2 separate regions of the Homo sapiens genome follow, and region 2 is linked to region 1. Evidence: promoter capture Hi-C in 16 types of primary human blood cells and fetal thymus (Javierre and others, 2016). All regions are on one chromosome and are shown on one strand. Each heading gives the region's core, a stretch centred on a gene start or on the middle of the fragment in contact. The rest is flanking DNA. Distances are from core to core; before and after follow the strand shown. Region 1 holds the start of PWAR4 (Prader Willi/Angelman region RNA 4). Region 2 holds the start of PWAR6 (Prader Willi/Angelman region RNA 6).

Region 1 (3,622 bases), core at 907-3,406:
ACAGGTTGAGCCACCTCCAGGTGCCCTTCAGGGCCTTGAAGTCTCCAGCCTAAAATATAAGGGCCCTGCCAGGGACTTCGGGATCCTACTGTCCCCTTCCAAAATTCTCAACTAGGCTGGGCCTCAGCGTAATCCTATTGAGCATGATTTTTAAGTCACCACCTCTCTTCAGAACAATATAAGGTTCTCGACACTGACTGAACCCAAGGCACCTTCCCTCCCTGCACATGCATCCAGCAGGACCATGATATACTCACCACAGCTCAGTGCAGGAGGCCAGGATGCCAGGAAAGGCCTGAGCTTCAGTGCACCAGGGGCTGGGAAACTGGCTGACAGACACTGGCCCAGGGCCATTGGGCCCAATGCAAATCTTCCTCCAGGCTCACCATCTGGGGGGACAGGAGGAGGATATGTGTCCAAATAGGGCCTCACATCTCCATGTGGAGAAGGGATCCCCTGTAATGGGTTCTATGTGGAACAGACCCATCACAGATGCAGGGCACCCTTGGCCCTCCCCATCACCAAACCCTGAGAAACAAGGCAGGCTGGTCATTGGGTTTGGGCCAGATACCTGGGCTGAGCCATACTTCCGTTCCGGAGAGCACCTCCACTGCCCTCACCAGCTCCCCTGCATGATCCCAGGGTTGCCCTGTGACCACTGGGCATGGGCCATGGCCACCAACCCGCTCCCAGCCAACCAAGGAGGGTAGCCTGGAAGCTATGCACCGTTGCAGACCTGGCAGTCACATAGCCTGCCTCTGGGCGTGGTGGGCACCCACTGAGGAGCCCTCCCCAAGTGTGCACTAAAAATCACAGCCTGGGGACCTGGGCCATGAGCTTTCACTGGTGGGACCCCATTCATATCCCACACCTCTCAAACACAGAGCTGGGCCACACTCGGCCAATCAAGGGCCACATGGTATCTTCTCGTTTCCTTGGGCCCAAGATCCCGAGACCCTGGAGGTGACCCCTTGGCTAAGAAGGCGGGGTGGCAAATTCCCGGTACAACACCCTAGACAGTGGACCTTCCCACCTCAGAATGCCACTGTTACTGCCACTCAAACATGGAGAACAGGTGACCCCCATGGGACATGGGATGCCCCCTTAGCCCAAAGCCCATGGGTCACAGGACTGGCCTGAAGCACCACCAGGAGCTGGCCAGATCTCAACCTTGACCCAACCCCATTGAAACTGCACCACCCCTGACCAGGCTCAATACGTGCCACTGGGATGGCCCATTGTTCAACAGGATCAGCCCCATTCAGGGTCACAGGTGGGATGAGATCCTTGAACCTCCATGGCCCGACCCCATCACCACCCCCCCCAGGAACATGCCCGGGGACCGAGAGCTCCCAAGTGAAACCCGTGGCACCCTGGAGCCCTTCTGGCCCGCCTCATGTGGCCTGGGCAGTCCTCAAGGCCTGACCTGCACACCAAGTCTCAACTGGGCGATGTCCTGCATGGGGCTGAAGGAACCCTTTGCTATCTGGACCATTGTCATTCCTGCAGATCTTCAGGGAAGGCATCCTCCTCAGGTAAGATTCCCAAGGAAGCCGCCCTCCTGGAGAAACCATCCCTCCCTGATGGGAATTGGGGTCAGCTCCCTGAGGAAACCCTCATGGCCTGAAGTCTGACCCTCAGTGAACCCATGCCCATGATGCCAGCAGGATCCACTCACCTATGTTGGTCAATGCCAGGAGGCCCCCCCTTGGCAGAAGAGCTCACTGAAAGACACAAGGGGAGAACTGGGGCTCAGGGAGGAGCCACCCACGTGCCACTTCACTGGGGAACAGAAAGGCCAACACCAAGCCCGCACAGGGAGCCTGGGCTGCCTCACAGAGGAGTGCAGAGACAGAGTTGGGCCTCCTCCAGATACCTTTCAGGGCCTCCAGGGCTCCAGCCCAAAATACAGTGGCCCTGCCGGAAATCTCGGGATCCCAGCATCCTCCTCCAAATTTCTCACCTAGGTTGGGCCTCAGCGTAATCATTGAGCATGGTAATTTTAAGTCATCACCTCTCTTCAACACAATATAGGGTTCTCATCATTGACCCAACCCAGGGCACCCCCCCTGCCCACACATACATCCAGCGGGACCCGGATGTGCTCACCACAGCTCAGTGCAGGAGATCAAGGGGCCAGGAAGGGCCTGAGCTTCAGTGCACCAGGGGCTGAGCACCTGGCTGACGGACACTTGCCAGGGTCCATTGGTCCTGATGCAAGTCTTCCTTCAGGCTCACCATCTGGATGGACAGGAGGAGGACATGTGTCCAAACAGGGCCTCATACCTCCAGGTGGGGAATGGGGTAAGGGATACCCATGTGATGGGATCCATGTGGAACACTGACCTGTCACGGATACAGGGCACTCTCGGCCCTCCCCATCACCAAACCCTGAAAAAACAGGGCAGGTGGATCACTGGGCTTGGGCAAGACCCCTGGTCTTCATGCTATTGCAGACCTTGAGGGCACATCCAGTGCCCCCTCTGACTTCTCCTTCACACGATCCCAGGGCTGCCCCAGGACCACTGAGCATGGGACAGGGTCACCGACATGCTCATGGCCAACCGAGGAGCCTGGCCCAGAAGCCATGTGCCACCGTGGACATGGAAGTTGCATAGCCTGCCGCTGGGCATGGTGGGCACCTGCCCAGGCACTCTCTCCAAGCCACACCTGAAATCACAGCCTGGAGTACCAGGGCCATGTGCTTTCTCTGGTGGGTCCCCATCCATGCCCCACACATGTCCCAAACACAGATCCGGGCCACCCTTGGCCAATCCTGGGCCACATGGTGTCCTTTCCTTTCCCTAGGCCCAAGACCCTGCCACCCTGGACATGACCCCATGGCACAGAGAGTCTGGGCAGCAAATTCTCAGGATAGGACCATCAACAGCGGGCCTTCCCACCGCACATTCCACTCTTCCAGCCACTCACCCATGGGGAAGGGGTGACCTCCAGCAGGACACAAGCTGTCGACTTGGCCTAAAGCTCACGAGTCCCAGGTCCGGCCCACAGCCTCACCAGGCACTGGCCAGAGCTCAGCCTTGACCCAAACCCAGGGAAACAGCACTGCCCCCCACCAAGCTCAAAGAGGCACCATGGGATGGTCCATAGCTCAACAGGGTCAGTCCCATTTTGGGACATAGTTGGGTACAATCCTTGAATCTCCACGGCCCAATCCCATAGGCTCATTCAAGCACCCCTCTCCAGGGAAAGAGAACTCTTGCATGACCCCCGTGGTGCCCCGGAGGCCCTGTGGCCCCCATCATGTGGCCTCGGCAATCCTCGAGGCCTGACACATGCACTGAGTCTCAGCTGGGAGCTCTCCTGCACGGGGCTGAAGGAAGTCTTTGCTGCCTGGACCACTGTCATCCCTGCAGGGCTTCAGGAAGGCAACATCTTGGGTCCAGTTCCCAAGGAAGCCGCCCTCCTGTAGAAACCATCCCTCCCCGGTGGAAATACAGGTTGGCTCCCTGAGGAAACCCTCCTGTCCTAAAGACTGACCCTTGGTGACCCCACGCGGCCTGACTCATGGCCCATGACACCAGCAGGATGCACTCACCTAGGCTAATCAAGGTGAAGGGGCCCTTCTGAGCTGAAGAGCTCACTGAAAGACACAAGGCAA
Region 2 (3,521 bases), core at 807-3,306, 180 kb after region 1:
TTACCCTGCTTTTTCTCATGAACAGTCATCCATTCACTTTCTAATTTACTCTTTCACTGTAAATACCATGAAAGCAAATTTAGTCATTTAAAATGGAATAATAATTTTCTGTTTCACTTTCCAGGATGTGATATTATCAAAACTGTGAAAGAGATACAAACAGCAACACATAAAACTGGTAATAGTTCTACTCTTTGTTAAAGTATCTACCACATCCTGATTTGCCAATCAAAACTTCTGTTTCAACTATTTGCTATATCAACTACTCAAAGAAGAAAGTGGTTACATTTTATTTGTAGCCTTTAGACAAAAGCCACATGCATCGACTCATTTCAGATGGCCAGAATGTCCACCGTGGGGTAGCTCACTTATTCTCTCTTCTGGCAAGATCAGAGCTCGCTACACCCCTTTGCTTATGAACTATGGACTGAAGACTTAAACTGTGGGAAAGAACACTTAGGCAAGTTAGCTACAGATACCAAGGGGAAAGAATTTCTTCGTTTTATTCATTTTTTTCTAGATTTTTCTCTGGCATGAAAAAATGCATTGTGGAGAATGCTTCCACCCCTTGGAAGTGGTAAAAGCGGGTGATAATGCTGGGAATGAGGGTAGAGAAGAATACTTAGCTCAAATTAATCACCAGGTATTTCTAATAATAATACCAAAGCAAACTAGAACATAACGCTTAGTGAAATCAATGCTCTATCTGTTTTGGATGAGTGGAAAATAGATACTCACACCAAGAGATTATTCCTACATGAATACAAAACTCTCACTAGGCAAAATACAAAGCAGGTAGACCTTGGAAATATAGAAAGTTTATAAAAATTGTGATGCTTAAAAAAACCTACAGAAATGTGAACATGTATACTTTTTATAAAAAACAGTGAAAATCAGAGAAGTTTCATGTGGGATAGACAGCTCTACTATTTTAGGCTTGGGTACTTTAGAGTACAAATCAGTAAAACTAGCTAGCACAGTATTGTCTCATAAGTTGAAACTTTTCTCCATCAGGTCAAGTAAGACATACAGGTCTGGCTACTAGTAATAGAAGAATACATGTTATCAAACTAAGCCCCCAACAGATATCAACTGTAAACTCCAGAATTAATATAAAGACAGCTATCTAAAACCACGGAGAACAACCAAAAGCAAGCCAACACTGGAGGAGAGCGCACTCTTGGAGGAAAGGAATTTCCCTGTAAGTTTCCAATTTCAAGGAATTTTGCCGAAAGGCATCCTCAGTAGTGGCTGAAAAGTGGGAGGAAATTCCCACACTGTAGCCAATCAGACACGGGAAGCCTGAATGAAATTCTGTGTATAAGTTCTGCTGAAATCCTTTGGTTGACCTCTAAACTGCCCATCATGTAGGCCAGACTCAAAGTAACCCAACCAATATGAAAAGAAAAGAACTGAATAGAGCGTAGGCTGCTTCCCACAGCACACGAGGCAGCCTGGAGTTTGAATCCAGCTAAGTTAACTGCTTGCCTTAAAAATAAATAAGTAAAAGTATCACTACCCTTTATAGCCATAGCTCTCAATGAGAAAGAGTGAGTAAAGATGCATGATTTTGGCCCCAACACCATAAAAAAGAGCGCTTAGAAAGGACTGAAGGCATTTTTTGGCAGGGGATGTGGGGAGGAGAGAGAGTTATGCTACTGGTAAGTAGTGAGTGGAGACAAAGGATAATACTCAGTACCCCACAATGCATATAGAACAGTACCCTCCCAAAATACACACAACAACACAAACAAAATGACCCAGTTCAAAATGTCAGTAGTGCTGAAGCTGAGAAATATTGTTTTAGAAGAATAAAATAGAATTCAGAGTTTCTACAGTATATTCAAAGTTCAAGTTACAATCCAAAATTACTTGACATACAAAGAATGAAAACTATAATCCATACTTAAGACAAAGGGCAATAAAGCTACCCTGGAAGCAGTCCTGATGTTAAAATTCTGAAAAAGCATATAATTATGCTGAAGACATAAAGAAAAATGTGCTTATACTAAATGAATAGGATAGCACATCAAATACAACATAATATTAAAAATAAAGAACTGGTTGGCGCGGGCATGAGGCCGAGGCAGGAAGACTGCTTGAGTCTGGGAGTTCAAGACCAGCTTGGGCAACACAACGACCCCATCTCTACAAAAATAAAAAATTAGCTGAGCGTGGTGGCATGCACCTGTAGTTCTAGCTACTTAGGAGTGGGTAGGTTAAGGTGAGAGGATCACTTGAGACCAGGAGGTCAAGGCTGCGGTGAACCATGACACTGCACTCCACCCTGTGTGACAGAGAAAGATTCTGTCTCAAAAACAAACAAAAAGCAGAAAATATCTGGAACTAAAAAATAAAATAAATTAAAAAGAAAATTCACAGGATAGGCTTAAGAGCAGATTGGGAAAAAATAGAATAAACAGTGAGTGAACATGGATGGAAACAAATTATTAGGTTGTTCAAAGTGAAAAACACCAAAAATAAGATTTAAAAAGAATGTCAGGTATCCATAGAAAAATATTAATAGGTCTAATACATATGTAAAAATTGGAGTCCCAGGGGGAAGAGACTGAAAAGTTATATTTTAAATGGCTGAAATCCCCCCAAATTTAACATAAAGCACAACATTTACAGATTCAAGAAGTTCAAACAACCAAACAATATAAATAAAAACACACTGAGTCACATCATAACCAAAACTGACTCAATACTTAGGTAAAAATATCTTAGTAGGTAGGAGTCAGAGAAAAATGAAAAATGGCACATTTAAAGAAAAAGAATTACACAAAAATAAAGACTTAAGTATCAACGGAGTCCAGAAAACAGTGGATTATCTTTGAAGTGCTTAAAGAAAGCCATTAATTCTATATTTAGTAACAATATATTTCAATGAAGAAGACTTCAAAAAAAGACACAGTTGAATAAAAAGTAAACTAATCACCATATACTAAAAGAAAAATTATCATCAGTAGGTCTGCTATACCAGAAGTGCTAAAGAAAGTTCTTCAGGCAGATGGAAAGAAACTTGGATCTTCGGGAAAGAATTAAGATCACTGAAGTTGGTTCATATTTATGTAAATATAGGTGATTTGAAAAAAAGCAGCATTAGAGTGAAGGTAAAATTCTGACTGAGAAGCCAGATTCAAACCTAGCCATTCAGATTGCTCAAGCAGTGTCAAAAGTAGCAGCTACTGGCATAGCAACTAGCCCTTTACTCCCATTGGTAACAACTCATTTCCCTTGCATTCCCAATAAACCTGAAGATGGACTCAAAATACCATCACTACACTTCCTTCTCTGCAGGGGTTAAGAAGAGTTAGCAAAGAGGGAGCCATGGCAAAGCGACATTCACATAGAACAGACATATGAAAGCCCCAGAGAGAAAACATTTTCTAATTTCCCAAATTCAGACATTTTTATGGTCCTTTCCTATCATTATTTTAAAATAAATCACTATATTCTTAAAGAGTTAATACCTACACCTCTACACCTTATTAAGAAATCACTACATTTTATGTTCT

What was found. The method cuts DNA at HindIII sites, captures the fragments that hold promoters and counts their contacts. A CHiCAGO score of 5 or more calls a contact.
Region 2: a contact is called between the fragment with the promoter of PWAR6 here and the fragment with the promoter of PWAR4 in region 1, in 5 of 17 cell types (neutrophils, monocytes, non-activated CD4 T cells and 2 more). The highest score is 5.7, in neutrophils.

What each region holds. Positions count from the first base shown.
Region 1 is chr15:25,210,226-25,213,847 of GRCh38, reverse strand. PWAR4 (Prader Willi/Angelman region RNA 4) reads right to left here and starts at 2,156. Exons shown (of 1, transcript NR_022010.1): 1 at 1,815-2,156. SNHG14 (small nucleolar RNA host gene 14) reads right to left here. Exons shown (of 148, transcript NR_146177.1): 102 at 2,110-2,241; 103 at 1,679-1,724; 104 at 258-389. It overlaps SNORD115-23 (small nucleolar RNA, C/D box 115-23), which reads right to left and starts at 2,052; the gene lies at 1,971-2,052. It overlaps SNORD115-24 (small nucleolar RNA, C/D box 115-24), which reads right to left and starts at 189; the gene lies at 119-189. The HindIII fragment of the contact is 4,906 bases long and covers 1-3,622 here.
Region 2 is chr15:25,030,408-25,033,928 of GRCh38, reverse strand. It overlaps PWAR6 (Prader Willi/Angelman region RNA 6), which reads right to left and starts at 2,056. Exons shown (of 1, transcript NR_146168.1): 1 at 1-2,056. The region is part of intron 23 of SNHG14 (small nucleolar RNA host gene 14); the gene reads right to left. The HindIII fragment of the contact is 7,287 bases long and covers 1-3,521 here.